2 separate regions of the Homo sapiens genome follow, and region 1 is linked to region 2. Evidence: promoter capture Hi-C in 16 types of primary human blood cells and fetal thymus (Javierre and others, 2016). All regions are on one chromosome and are shown on one strand. The core of a region is centred on a gene start or on the middle of the fragment in contact, and the rest is flanking DNA. Distances in the headings are between cores, read along the strand shown.

Evidence for each region. Contacts are between HindIII fragments. The CHiCAGO score rates a contact against its expected background, and 5 or more counts as called.
Region 1: a fragment that was not itself captured here is called in contact with the fragment with the promoter of MRPL4 in region 2 in 6 of 17 cell types (M0 macrophages, activated CD4 T cells, naive CD8 T cells and 3 more); the score reaches 6.9 in M0 macrophages.

What each region holds. Positions count from the first base shown.
Region 1 is chr19:10,139,433-10,146,165 of GRCh38, reverse strand. It overlaps DNMT1 (DNA methyltransferase 1), which reads left to right. Exons shown (of 41, transcript NM_001130823.3): 29 at 2,179-2,400; 30 at 3,946-4,138; 31 at 4,977-5,061; 32 at 5,257-5,385; 33 at 5,838-6,120; 34 at 6,349-6,490. Among named protein-coding and RNA genes, the nearest start is that of EIF3G, 23 kb to the right of the region's middle. The HindIII fragment of the contact is 1,927 bases long and covers 3,075-5,001 here.
Region 2 is chr19:10,247,815-10,254,551 of GRCh38, reverse strand. MRPL4 (mitochondrial ribosomal protein L4) reads right to left here and starts at 2,338. Exons shown (of 9, transcript NM_015956.3): 1 at 2,242-2,338; 2 at 2,089-2,155; 3 at 1,851-2,001. The coding sequence starts at 2,298. RefSeq lists enhancers at 1,836-2,409, 2,266-2,675, 2,806-2,955, 2,410-2,983 and a silencer at 4,353-4,402. The HindIII fragment of the contact is 20,723 bases long and covers 1-4,432 here.

The sequences.
Region 1 (6,733 bases), core at 2,789-5,288, 110 kb after region 2:
AGCAAAGCTGAGCGTAAAAGTCAACTCGCTGGTTTGGCTGGGTGTGGTTTCTCACGCCTGTAATCCCAGCGCTTTGGGAGGCCGAGGCAGTGGGGAATCATCTGAGGTCAGGAGTCTGAGACCAGCCTGGCCAACATGGTGAAACCTCGTCTCTACTAAAAATACAAAAATTAGCCGGGTGTGGTGGTGCGCGCCTGTAGTCCCAGCTACTCGAGAGGCAGAGACAGGAGAATCACTTGAACCTGGGAGGCAGAGGTTGCAGTGAGCCAAGATCATGCCACTGCACTCCATCCTGGGCAACAGAGTGTGACTCCGTCTCAAAATAAAAAAAGAAAAAAAAAGAACTTACTGGATAAAGCGCGAGGGACAGCTGGGGGCCCACCCCCAAGTTCTGCCTCTGCCCAAGGACACCTCCTCTCCGTCCCCTACTGTGAAGTGGGAGAGTGGGATCTTGCCTGCTGGGGCTCGAAGGGTTGAGTGAGTTGAAAGTGCTCCATACAGTACCTGGCTTAAAGTAAAGGTTTAACGGACATGAGTTACTTCTTGGTTAGAGGGAATCACATCAGATGACTTCTCTGTGTCAGAGGATCGAGGCTCTTCCAGGAAAAACCTAAAGCCACAGATCGTTTCCACACTGATCCATTCTGTGTTTTTTCTAAGAATCAGCGTGTGGTTGGAATTACAGCCAACGTTTTCCAGATGCCTTCCCGGCTCACAATTCCATTTCCTTAGAGCCCCAGCTCCCTTGCCTTAGTTCAGTTACTGTGAATTATGAGAACTGGAGAAGCAGGTTCCCTCCAGCCTTGGCACAGTTGGGGCGCGTTACCCCCTCTGGTTGTCCTTGGTGGGAAGGGGACACCTCCCCGTAGTGTTTTCTGCCAGTTGCTCCTGGCAAAGTGGGAGAGTCAGCACAGAGACGCCTTTGGGGCCCGTCAGACTCCTGGGGGGCCTAGTGGGGAGAACGTGACAGCTGACTTCCCTAACGGCAGGCCTTCTTCAAAGAACAGCTTTTCCACACTAGTCAGACCACACTCCCATTGTCCCAGGCCCTGTGGCGCCTTACATTGGCCTCCAGTGTCGCTTCTAGATCAGAGCCTTAGTCAGGGTAGCGTAGGTTGTATCATAGCAACAACCCCAAATCACAGTGACTTAAAACCACAGAAGCTGGACTGGGTGCGGTGGCTCATGCCTGTCAGGAGTTCAAGACCAAGACCAGCCTGGCCGACATACCTGTCTCTACTAAAAATAAATTAGCCAGGGTTAGCTGGGTGTGGTGGTGGGCACCTGTAATCCCAGCTACTTGGGAGGCCGAGGCACGAGAATCGCTTGAACCTGGGAGGAGGAGTTGCAGTGAGCCGAGATTGTGCCACTGCACTCTAACCTGGGTGACAGAGTGAAACTCTCTCAACAAAAACCACGGTAGCCGCTGTCTCGCTCATACGAGGTGCCCATCACAGGTCAGCAGAGGACTCCACCTGTTGTGTCCCTTGGATATCTGGGCCGCTGGAGTCAGAAGTTGCCAGTGTTTGAGCCCAAGGGAAAGCACACAGGACATTCCCCAGGCAGTGACATCCTCTTTGGTCACTTCTGCCCACGTCACATGCCAGGAAACACAAGATGCCAAGTAGTCGGGAGGCAGGAGCCTGGGGTATTTGAGCAGTGTCAGCCACCACCGTAGCCAGTAATGCGCAGAGGGTGAATGCGTGCTTCAAACTGTGAGACTAAATCTGCAGCTAAATCTTTTTTTTTTTTTTCTGTGAGATGGAGTCTTGCTCTGTCACACAGGCTGGAGTGCAGTGGCACAATCTCAGCTCACTGCAACCTCTGCCTCCTGGGTTCAAGCAATTCTCCTGCCTCAGCCTCCCAAGTAGCTGGAATTATAGGCATGTACCACCACACCCGGCTAATTTTTGTATTTTTAGTAGAGACAGGGTTTTACCGTGTTGGCCAGGGTGGTCTCGAACTTCTGACCTTGTGGTCCACCTGCCTTGGTCTCCCAAAGTGCTGGGATTACAGGCGTGAGCCACAATGCCCAGCCTAAATCATTTCTTAGGGTACACACCTACCTTAATTCATCAGGTGCTTGACTTTAAATGGTTATTTTCACTGGTCAGTCATGCCTGACTGACCACTGCAAGGTGGAAGGTTCATTGATGTCAAGTGGGTGCTTCTCTGCAGCATCAAGCTGTCCAGTCCCGTGAAACGCCCACGGAAGGAGCCCGTGGATGAGGACCTGTACCCAGAGCACTACCGGAAATACTCCGACTACATCAAAGGCAGCAACCTGGATGCCCCTGAGCCCTACCGAATTGGCCGGATCAAAGAGATCTTCTGTCCCAAGAAGAGCAACGGCAGGCCCAATGAGACTGACATCAAAATCCGGGTCAACAAGTTCTACAGGTCAGCAGAGGCCTCTGTTCTTCCACGAGGCCACAGACTCTTCTAGAAGGCTCTGCCTGAAACAAGGTTGTGGCATAGCACCCACAGTTGTTCTAAGAGTTAGGTTGAAGTAGCTGTTTTTCCAAGTGTTTCTGATTATCGGTGGGCACTGATAATGACTAGAATTCTAGTTCCCAGCCCTCACTTTTAGGTCCTTATTTTAATGTTGCAGAGCCCTTTTTCCAAAAGAAATCCTTAAGCTGGCTGGGCACTGTAGCTCACGCCTCTAATCCTAGCACTTTGGGAGGCTGAGGCAGGAAGATCACTTGAGTCTAGGAGTTCAAGACCAGCTTGAGGAAACGTAGTGAGACCCCGGCCCTACCAAAAAAAAAAAAAAAAAAAGACTAGCTGGGCGTGGTGGCACACGCCTGTAATCCCAGCTACTTGGGAGGCTGAGGCTGAAGGGATCACTGAAACCCAGGAATTTGAGGCTGTAGTGAGCCATGATCCCACCACTGCACTCCGGCCTGGGTGACAGCCAGACCCCGTCTCAAAAGAAAAAACGGGTAGAGTGCCTGGGCACCCCCAGAGAACCTCCCAAGCTCCATCTATGACTGTCCAGGTTCTGTCCCGCTGTCCCCACCTCTTCCCAGGTCCTCCTTTCTGTCTCTGGGATTTTTTCTCTTTCCTAAGCTTTTGGCCTATTACGTTTTCTTTTTCTAAGACCCGAGTAACTTGCGGTGATTAGGCATTAACCTGAAACTAGCCTGTACAGGAAGCTATACACTTGCCTCACCTCTTAGCTAACATAGATCAAAGATTTCCTGAAGCCTTTGTAATAACAGGAAATAAAACAAGGGCTGTGAGTGGTACAGGTGAGAGAAACACACTCGAGAGGCTGCTACCGGCAGGCGGACACAGCAGGGCAGGGCCAGGCGTGCAGAGCAAGCAGCCAAGCTGACCTAATGGTTGGGGGGTCTCTACCCTGTGGTTCCCTAATTGGGGGCGAATCTACCTTGCAGTTCCCTCATTTGGGGAGGGGTTATCTTTACCTGCGGTTCCCTAAGTAGGGGGGTCTTTACCCTATGACTCCCTAACTGGGGAGGTCTTTACCCTGCGGTTCCATAACTGGGGGGTCTTTACCCTGCGGTTCCCAACTGGGTCGGGGGTCATTACCTGGCGGTTCCCTAATTGTGGGGGAATCTACCTTGCAGTTCCCTAATGTGAGGAGGGGATATCTTTACCCTGTGATTCCCTTACTGGGAGGGGTCTTTACCCTGCGATTCCCTAACTTGGGGGATCTTTACCCTGTGGTTCCCTAACTAGGGGGGGTCTTTACCCTGCAGTTCCCTAAATGGGGGGGAGTCTACCTTGCAGTTCCCCAGTGTGGGGAGGAGATATCTTTACCCTGCAGTTCCCTAACTGAGGGGGTCTTTACCCTGCGGTTCTCGAACTAGGGGGTCTTTACCCTGCAGTTCCCTGAGCACCCCAGGAACATGGTACTGTTTAATTCAGCATAAGCTCACCACAAAGGAGAGCTCCTAACGAGGCCTCTCCCGCTCGCAGGCCTGAGAACACCCACAAGTCCACTCCAGCGAGCTACCACGCAGACATCAACCTGCTCTACTGGAGCGACGAGGAGGCCGTGGTGGACTTCAAGGCTGTGCAGGGCCGCTGCACCGTGGAGTATGGGGAGGACCTGCCCGAGTGCGTCCAGGTGTACTCCATGGGCGGCCCCAACCGCTTCTACTTCCTCGAGGTGGTGCCCCTGCTTGCTAGAGGGAAGGCTTCGGGGTCAAAGTTGGCCAGAAGGAGTCTGATGTCGGGTTATACACAAGGCGGCTTGGCTGCAGGGTTTCAGCTTTTGTAAGAAGTGGGTGGTTGGCTGACGTGAAGCTGTTCTGCAGGAGCTTTACGGGGGTCTGAGCAGGGTTCTCCAGAGCACAAGTTGTATGAGATTCAAGTGGTCCCGGAGTTTAACACTCCTGGTTTTTAAAAAGTACGTCATTAGAGAACCTAACGTTTTAGTGTCTTGGTGCAACTGAACGTTGAGGACCATGAGGCAGCTTCCACCAGCCTGACTGGTGTCTTAGTATGAGTTGGAGAAGGTGCCCCTGCTCCTGGGTCCCTTGGGCCAGGCGCCTACGTCCAGGCCCAGCCCACATGCCTGTGCGGGTGGCCCTCGTTATGGAGAGGGCCCACGAGTCAGCTGATCAAGCTCATGACTTGTAAATTGTTGGGGCTTGGCCTTTCCGTGTTGTTACCTTAAAACGATACATCCACGTTCTCCCAGGCATGGATGAGGTAGCCCAATTGGACAGCAGATTCTGCATAGCACTTTTTCCTGTTCTAGAAGGTACTCTCAAGTGCTTGTAATAGGCATTTCAGTGTCAGCCAGATCAAATGTTAGTATTAATAAAATGGATTGTTTTAAGTTTCTATTGTAGCAAAGTCAAACTACTCTTATTGGTGGCTAATTGGTCATGGCCCCACTGAGGGAGAAATTAAGTGACTATCAAATTGCCTTCTTACTAGTCTGCGTTAGAGAGGGGACAGTGCGTTTCTCTCCCAAACGATTGCAGTTCTCTCCTTTTCAGGCCTATAATGCAAAGAGCAAAAGCTTTGAAGATCCTCCCAACCATGCCCGTAGCCCTGGAAACAAAGGGAAGGGCAAGGGAAAAGGTACGTCATTGTATGAGTTTCTTTTCAAGTTATTCTTCTGTAACTTGGAGGCTGCCTGTGAATCCCTCAGTGTAAAACCACCTCTGGTGTTACTGACTCTGGGACAGCGAGGCCGCCTGAGTTAACAAGGCGCTTGAGAGCAAGGTGGACTTGGACTCTGAGGATCGGGTTTAGCCTCTGGCCTCTCTCCCCCAGGGAAGGGCAAGCCCAAGTCCCAAGCCTGTGAGCCGAGCGAGCCAGAGATAGAGATCAAGCTGCCCAAGCTGCGGACCCTGGATGTGTTTTCTGGCTGCGGGGGGTTGTCGGAGGGATTCCACCAAGCAGGTGAGCGCCCGTAGGCTCCATCTCTGAATACCTGGTGAGCCCAGACCGGGCAGGTGCTACCTGAAACGACTTCCAACCCCGGTCACCTTCCTGACTCAAGAATCTCCTTCCGAGGCCAGGCACGGTGGCGCACGCCTGTAATCCCAGCACTTTGGGAGGCCGAGGTGGGTGGATCATGAGGTCAGGAGTTTGAGACCATCCTGGCCAACATGGTGAAACCCCGTCTCTAATAAGAATACAAAAATTAGCTGGGCGTGGTGGTGTGTGCCTGTAGTCCCAGCTACTCAGGAGGCTGAGGTGGGAGAATCGCTTGAACCTGGGAGGCAGAGCTTGCAGTGAGCCAAGATCACACCACTGCACTCCAGCCTGGGTGACAGAGCGAGACTCCATCTCAAAAAAAAAAAAAAATCTTCTGGAGAGTTGAAAGCATGGCTTCGTGCTTGATCTGCCAGGCATCTCTGACACGCTGTGGGCCATCGAGATGTGGGACCCTGCGGCCCAGGCGTTCCGGCTGAACAACCCCGGCTCCACAGTGTTCACAGAGGACTGCAACATCCTGCTGAAGCTGGTCATGGCTGGGGAGACCACCAACTCCCGCGGCCAGCGGCTGCCCCAGAAGGGAGACGTGGAGATGCTGTGCGGCGGGCCGCCCTGCCAGGGCTTCAGCGGCATGAACCGCTTCAATTCGCGCACCTACTCCAAGTTCAAAAACTCTCTGGTGGTTTCCTTCCTCAGGTAAACGGGTAGAAGCCCCCCAGTGTTGCCAGACGGCCCGGGGCTGTGCCGCATGTCAGCAGTGGTCATTTTCGCCCTGCACTGAGGCCTCTGCCCCCCGGAAGCTCACAGCTCAGCTCTCACCAGGGAGAGACTTTGATAACATTCGTGAGGGGCTTCCGGCACAGTGGGTCGTTTCTTCCCTCTGTCTGTGGAGGTGACTCCTGCAGTCTCTCCTGCCCCCTACAGCTACTGCGACTACTACCGGCCCCGGTTCTTCCTCCTGGAGAATGTCAGGAACTTTGTCTCCTTCAAGCGCTCCATGGTCCTGAAGCTCACCCTCCGCTGCCTGGTCCGCATGGGCTATCAGTGCACCTTCGGCGTGCTGCAGGTGGGCCCTGGGGCTGGGGCGGGCAGACAGATGTGGCCAGCACGTGACCCGGCCAGCAGCCAGCCATCCCTTACTGAAGGCAGGGTTCAATGGCATAGGCCTGCCATCCAGGCAGCAGAGGCTGGCATGGTGCTCTGTCCCACTGGCGGAGTCAGGGGAGATGCGTGCTCAGCCGGCCCCCAGCAAGTCCACCGCTAGTGTCTCTTGAGCTGTGTTCTCGAACATGCCTGGGAGGGCTGGCTA
Region 2 (6,737 bases), core at 1,089-3,588:
CTTCAAACGCTCCCACCCCACTATAGGAAAACCCAGGATTCTCCCTTCTGCCTCCAGGGCCCTGGGCGATTTGCCTCTGCCCCTCACTGACCCCATCTTGAAATTCTGCCTCAGGGCCTTGGCACTTGCTGTTCCCTCTGCCTGAAACACTCTTCTCCTGGATGGTTCTTTCTCAGCCTACAGGTAGCAGCTCCAATAACTGCTGAAAGGTACCTTCTAAAGAAAGAGCCACCCTGACCAGGTGCAGTGGCTCATGCCTGGAATCCTGGCACTTTGGGAGGCCAAGGCAGGTGGATCACTTGAGGCAAGGAGTAAGACCAGCCTGGGCAACATGGCAAAGTGATGTCTCTCCAAAATATACAAAGATTAGCTGGGCACGGTGGTACATGTCTGTCATTCTGGCTACTCGGGAGGCTGAGGCATGAGAATTAGTAGAACCCAGGAGGCGGAGGTTGAAGTGAGCTGAGAGCATGCCATTGCACTCCAGCCTGGGCGACAAGAGCGAAACTTCATCTCAGAAAAAAAAAGCCACCCCTTCTTCCTTGTTTTTCCTACCATTACTTTTTTCCTGCTATTACACTTCACTTATTGCCACCTTCTTCAGGGACTGGTTTTCCTCTCTAGTTCTATACCATTCCATACAGTCACATACTCAACATCTGAAACATGGCCAGTGCCCCATGCTACAATGTGATTTCGACATAGTTTTAAATACAGGTTAAATACATTATTGAAATCAATTTCACCTGTTTTTTTTTTTGAGATGGAGTCTGTCTCTGTCGCCCAGGCTGGAGTGCAGTAGTATAATCACGGCTCACTGCAACCTCCATCTCCCCAGGTGCAAGCGATTCTCATGCCTCAGCCTCCTGAGTAGCTGGGACTACAGGCTTGCACTAAGACGTCCGGCTAATTTTTGTATTTTTGGTAGAGACGGGGTTTCATCATGTTGGCCAGGCTGGTCTGCAACTCCTGGTTTCAAGTGATCCGCCCACCTCGGCCTCCCAATGTGCTGGGATTACAGATGTGAGCCACAGTAACTGGCCCCTACATTTTCTTTTCTTTCTTTTTTTTTTTTTTTTTTGAGACAGAGTGTTGCCCAGGATGGAGTGCAGTGGCGCGATCTCGGCTCACTGCAAGCTCCGCCTCCCGGGTTCACGCCATTCTCTTGCCTCAGCCTCCAGAGTACCTGGGACTACAGACGCCCGCCACCACGCCCGGCTAATTTTTTTTTGTATTTTTAGTAGAGACGGGGTTTCACCATGTTAGCCAGGATGGTCTCGATCTCCTGACCTCGTGATCCGCCCGCCTTGGCCTCCCAAAGTGCTGGGATTACAGGCGTGAGCCACTGCGCCCAGGGTGGCCCCTACATTTTCTTAGAGATGTTATGAACAGCAGGGTAACTAAAATGCAAACAGCCTCTTCCAGGCACCGAGGAATGGTTTAGTCTTTTTAGTGCTCTTATTTGCAAAAACCAGTTAACAAAGATTATCAACATTTCTATAGAACTTATTATGTGCCAGAATTAAGTCATTTATTCATCACAGCAACCTCCCGACCGCTGACAAAATAGGGACACTGAGGGACAAGAGGGGAAGGCAGGATTTGAACCTAATCAGTCGGGCTCCAGAATTCTGTCTCCCTAACCCTTAGATGATGTCACCTCTCAGGCTTCAATCTCACACAGCGCTACAGCAGGGGAAACTGTCATCATTCCCCTTTGACAGGTGGAGAAACGGAGGCTGTAGAAATACAGCACTTTCCCAAGGGTACAAGCCCAAAGTCATCGTGACTCCTGAAATCCCGCTCTTCATCCCTCTGCCACTCAGTTCACCATTACAGCCCTCGCTCACCTGGGCGCGGTGGCGAAAACATCGGGGTGCAGGTCGGCCAGGCCCACGCGCTCCTGCTCGAAGCCCCGCAAGGACTCGACCCAGGCCTGCACTGGGCGTCGATGAGTGGGTACCGGGAGCTCGACTTTGCGCAGCACGGGCTCCGGGAGACCTGGAGCGATTGCGGGGGTCAGAGGTTAGGGTCAAGGGTCAGACCTCTCTGTCGCCGCCCCTCCTGGAGCCACCCCGGTTGCCTTACCCTCGCTCGCCACCTGCTCCGGGTTCTCGGTCGCACGCGCTGCCTCTTCCGCCAGGGAACTCAGGCCCTGCAAGGGTTGGGCGAAAGTGAGAGACGACCCCTGGACACCCCCAAATTTCATCCTTCGACCACGCCTCCAGCCCCTGGCCTCACCTGGCTGCCGGTAGGCCGAAGCCAGGCCCGCGCCCCGGCCCGGACGAACTGCAGCATCGCCGCGCAGCCTCCCACGCCGCGGGAGGTCAAGGCCACTGGAGCCTCGCGAGGCGCCGCTGGATGACGTCACGCACGCGACGCCGCCCTACCCGCCGCGACTCCGCGCTGGAAAGCGGGGTGTGCAAAACCGAAGATGGAGGGGGTCCGACCCGGCGTGCCCAGACCTCCACCCCAGGACTAACCCCCAGACCCAATTTTCACTCCTGCCTCAAGGACCCTCCGTAACACTGGGGAACGCGACCTCACAGCAAGAAGACCCAGCTTCCGTAGGCCTAGCCTACTTTGGGTCCCGCCTCCGACGAGCCGGTGCAGGAATTCAGCCAATGAGACCTCTCTGGCCCAATTCAGCCAATGACTGTTAAGCCTGAAGGAGTGACCCCCGCCCATAAGTGGGCAGTTCTGGAGTGAGCAACTAAGGAATACAGCCAATAACGCTTAAACTTTTGCTGTTGGTCACGCCCACCGGGCCACGCCTTCATCCCGCCTCCAAGGCTGTCGGAGATGGTTTTTTCTTTATCCAGTTATGTGGTTTTGTTTTTTTATTTGTTTTTTTGTTTTTGTTTTTGTTTTTGTTTTTGTTTTTTTTGAGACGGAGTCTTGCTCTGTTGCCCAGGCTGGAGTGCAGTGGCGCGATCTCGGCTCACTGCAAGCTCCGCCTCCTGGGTTCACGCCATTCTCCTGCCTCAGCCTCCCGAGTAGCTGGGACTGCAGGCGCCCGCCACCACGCCTGGCTAATTTTTTGTATTTTTAGTAGAGACGGGTATCACCGCGTTAGCCAGGATGGTCTCGATCTCCTGACCTCGTGATCCTCCCGCCTCAGCCTTCCAAAGTGCTGGGATTACAGGCGTGAGCCACCGTGCCTGGCGTTTTTTCATTTGTTTAAAGGCAGGGCCTTATTGCCCTCAGAAAGCCTTCAGGATTGGGCCTGCCAGACCATGCCTCCCAGTTTAGATTCCCCAGGGCAGGGCCATGTCCCCCCGAAACCCCTCAGATTAGGTATTTGTGTCCCTTACCCCCTAGACCAGGGTCCTCTCCCCTACCCCCTTAAACCAGGTCCCGTCCCCTCTCAGACCTTCCAGGGCTCTCCAAGGACAGAACAAAGTGGGGAGTCCACAGATCCTGGAGTGCCTCCCTTGTCGCCCCCTAACAAATCCGAATGCTTATTTTTAGTTTCTTTGTTTTGGTTTTTAGAGACAAGGTCTTCCTCTGTCGCCCAGGCTGGAGTGCAATGGGCAAGATCATGGCTTACTGCAGCCTCGACCTCCAGAGCTCAAGGGATTCTCCTGCCTCTGTCTCCTGAGTAGCTGGTCTACAGGTACGCAAGCCCGGCTCATTTTTGTATTGTATTTTTTTATTTTGTATTTGTATTTTGAGATGGAGTATCGCTCTGTCGCCCAGGCCGGAGTGCAGTGGTGTGAGATCGCACATCTCGGCCTCCCGGGTTCAAGCGATTCCCTGCCTCAGCTTACCGAGTAGCTGGGACTACAGGCGCCCGCCACCACACCTGGCTAACTTTTTGTATTTTTAGTAGAGAGGGGGTTTCACCGTGTTAGCCAGGATGGTCTCAATCTCCTGACCTCGTGATCCGCCCGCCTCGGCTTCCCAAAGTGCTGGGATTACAGGCGTGAGCCACCGAGCCCGGCCCTAATTTTCGTGTTTTTATTAGAGACAGTGTGGCACCACGTTGGCCAGGCTGGTCTTGAACTCCTGACCTCAGGTGATCCACCCGCCTCGGCCTCCCAAAGTGCTGGGATTACAGGCCTGAGCCACCGCGCCCGGCCTAATTTTTTTTTTGTAGAGATGGCGGGGGGTGGGTCTCCCAATGTTGCCCAGGCTGGTCTTGAACTCCTGGGCTCAAGCAATTCTCCCGCATTGGTCCCCCAAAGTGCTGGGATTACAGGCATGAGCTACTGTGGCCCACCCATTTTTAGGTTCTTTACCATGTTCCCGATAGACCTCCAGGGGGCGCCACCGGATCATAGCCGGCTTCCCTACCAGTCCAGGGCTGTCTACTTGGAGGCCAGTGCGTTCTGGACAGAGCACAGCTGACAACGTGGTCTGTGAACCAACCTCATTTTCCTCTGCTGGAAAAGGAGGTTATGAGATTCAGTGACGTAATGGAGGCAAAGCTTCCCATGCCTGGTACAAGGTGTAAAGTCAATAAATAGCATTATTATTATTTTTTTTTTGAGACAGAATCTCACTCTGTTGCCCAGGCTGGAGTGCAGTAGCGCGATCTTGGCTCACTGCAACCTCTGCCTCCTGGGTTCAAGCGATTCTCCTGCCTCAGCCTCCCGAGTAGCTGGGATTACAGGCGCCCGCCACTACGCCCAGCTAATTTTTATTTTTATTTTTTATTTTTAGTAGAGACAGGGTTTCACCATTTTGGCCAGGCTGGTCTCGAACTCCCGACCTCAGGTGATCCACCCGACTCGGCCTCCCAAAGTGCTGGGATTACAGGCGTGAGCCACCGCGCCTGGCCTCTACCAAAAATTTAAAAATTAGCTAGGTGTGATGGTATATGCCTGTGGTCCCAGCTAATGGGGAGGCTAAGGCAGAAGGATCACCTGAACCCAAGAGATTGAGGCTGCAGTGAGCCATGTTCATGCCACTGTACTCCAGCCTGGGTGACAGACTAAGATCCTGTCTCAAAAAAAAAAAAAAAAAAATGTGGCCGGGTGCGGTGGCTCACGCCTGTAATCCCAGCACTTTGGGAGGCCAAGGTGGGCGAATCACGAGTCAGGAGTTCGAGACCAGCCTGGCCAACATGGTGAAACCTTATCTCTACTAAAAATACAAAAAAATTAGCTGGGCGTAGTGGCGGGCACCTGTAATCCCAGCTACTCGGGAGGCTGACGCAGGAGAATCGCTTCAACCCAGGAGGCAGAGGTTGCAGTGAGCCGAGATCCCGCACCGCACTCCAGCCCATGCGACGAGTGAGACTCTGTCTCAAAAAAAAAAAAAAAAAAGAAAGAAAGAAAACAAAAAGTATAGTGTATTTCATTGTGTATTTTATCCCTGCAAGAATAACTGAATGCGGCCGGGCGTGGTGGCTCATGCCTATAATCCTAGCACTTTGGGAGTCCGAGGCGGGTGGATCACCTGAGGTCAGGGGTTCGAAACCATCCTGGCCAATATGCCAAAACCCCATCTTTACTAAAAATACAAAATTAGCCGAGCATGGTGGCGCATGCCTGTAATTCCAGCTACTTGGAAGGCTGAGGCAGAATTCCTTTAACTTGGGAGGCGGAGGTTGCAGTGAGCTGATACCGCACCATTGCACTCCAGCCTGGGCAACAAGAGTGAAACTCCGTTTCTAAATAAATAAATAAATAACTGTGGATGCATGTTTAAGACTCTATGTATTTTGCAACTTTAAAAGGTCTTTTAATCGTTTATTTTGTTGCTGTTGTTTTTGAGACAGGATCTCACCCTGTTACCAGTCTGTAGTGCAGTGTAACGATTATAGTTCACTGTAGTCTTGAATTCCTGGCCTCAGATGATCCTCTGCTGCAGCCACCTAAGTAGCTGAGGCCACAGGCATGTTCCACCATGCCCAGCAATTTTTTTTTTTTTTTTTTTTTTTTGTAGAGGCAGAGGTCTTGCTTTGTTGTCCAGGCTGGTCTTGAACTCCTGTTCTCAAGTGATGCTCCCTACCTGACTAATGTTTGTATTTTTCGTAGAGACAAGGTTTCACCATGTTGGTCAGGCTGGCCTCGGACTCCTGACCTCATGTGATCCACCCGCCTCAGCCTCCCAAAGTGCTGGGATTATAGGCGTGAGCCACTGCGCCTGGCCTATTGTATATTTTCATTGGTCATTCATACACCTGGTAGAGAGAATTTCAAAAATTACAAAGATTACTAGAGTGAAAATTCTGTCTACTCTTATCTGTGCCCCCTACCCCCCAGTTCTTCTCCCAGAAGCCACCACTACAATCAGCCTCCTGTGTGTCTACTCCAAAATCCGGTGTATGATTTTACAGGCAGATTTGCAAGTCTGTTCTGCACCAGAGAGTTTAGATTTTATGTGGCAAATGATGGAACAGTATTTCGTTTCTTTCTTTTTTCTTGTTTCATAGAGACAGGGTCTCGCCGTGTTGCCCAGGCAGATCTCAAACTTCTGGGCTCAAGCGATCTGCCCGCCTTGGCCTCCCAAAGTGCTGCGATTATGGGTGTGAGTCACCTCGCCTGGCTTTTTTTTTTTTTTTTTTTTTTTTGAGACGGAGTCTCGCTCTGTCGCCCAGGCTGGAGTGCAGTGGCGTGATCTTGGCTCACTGCAAGCTCCGCCTCCCAGGTTCACGCCATTCTCCCACCTCAGCCTCCTGAGTAGCTGGGACTACAGGTGCCCGCCACCACGCCTGGCTAATTTTTGTATTTTTAGTAGAGACGGTTTCACCATGTTAGCCAGGATGGTCTCAAACTCCTGACCTTGTG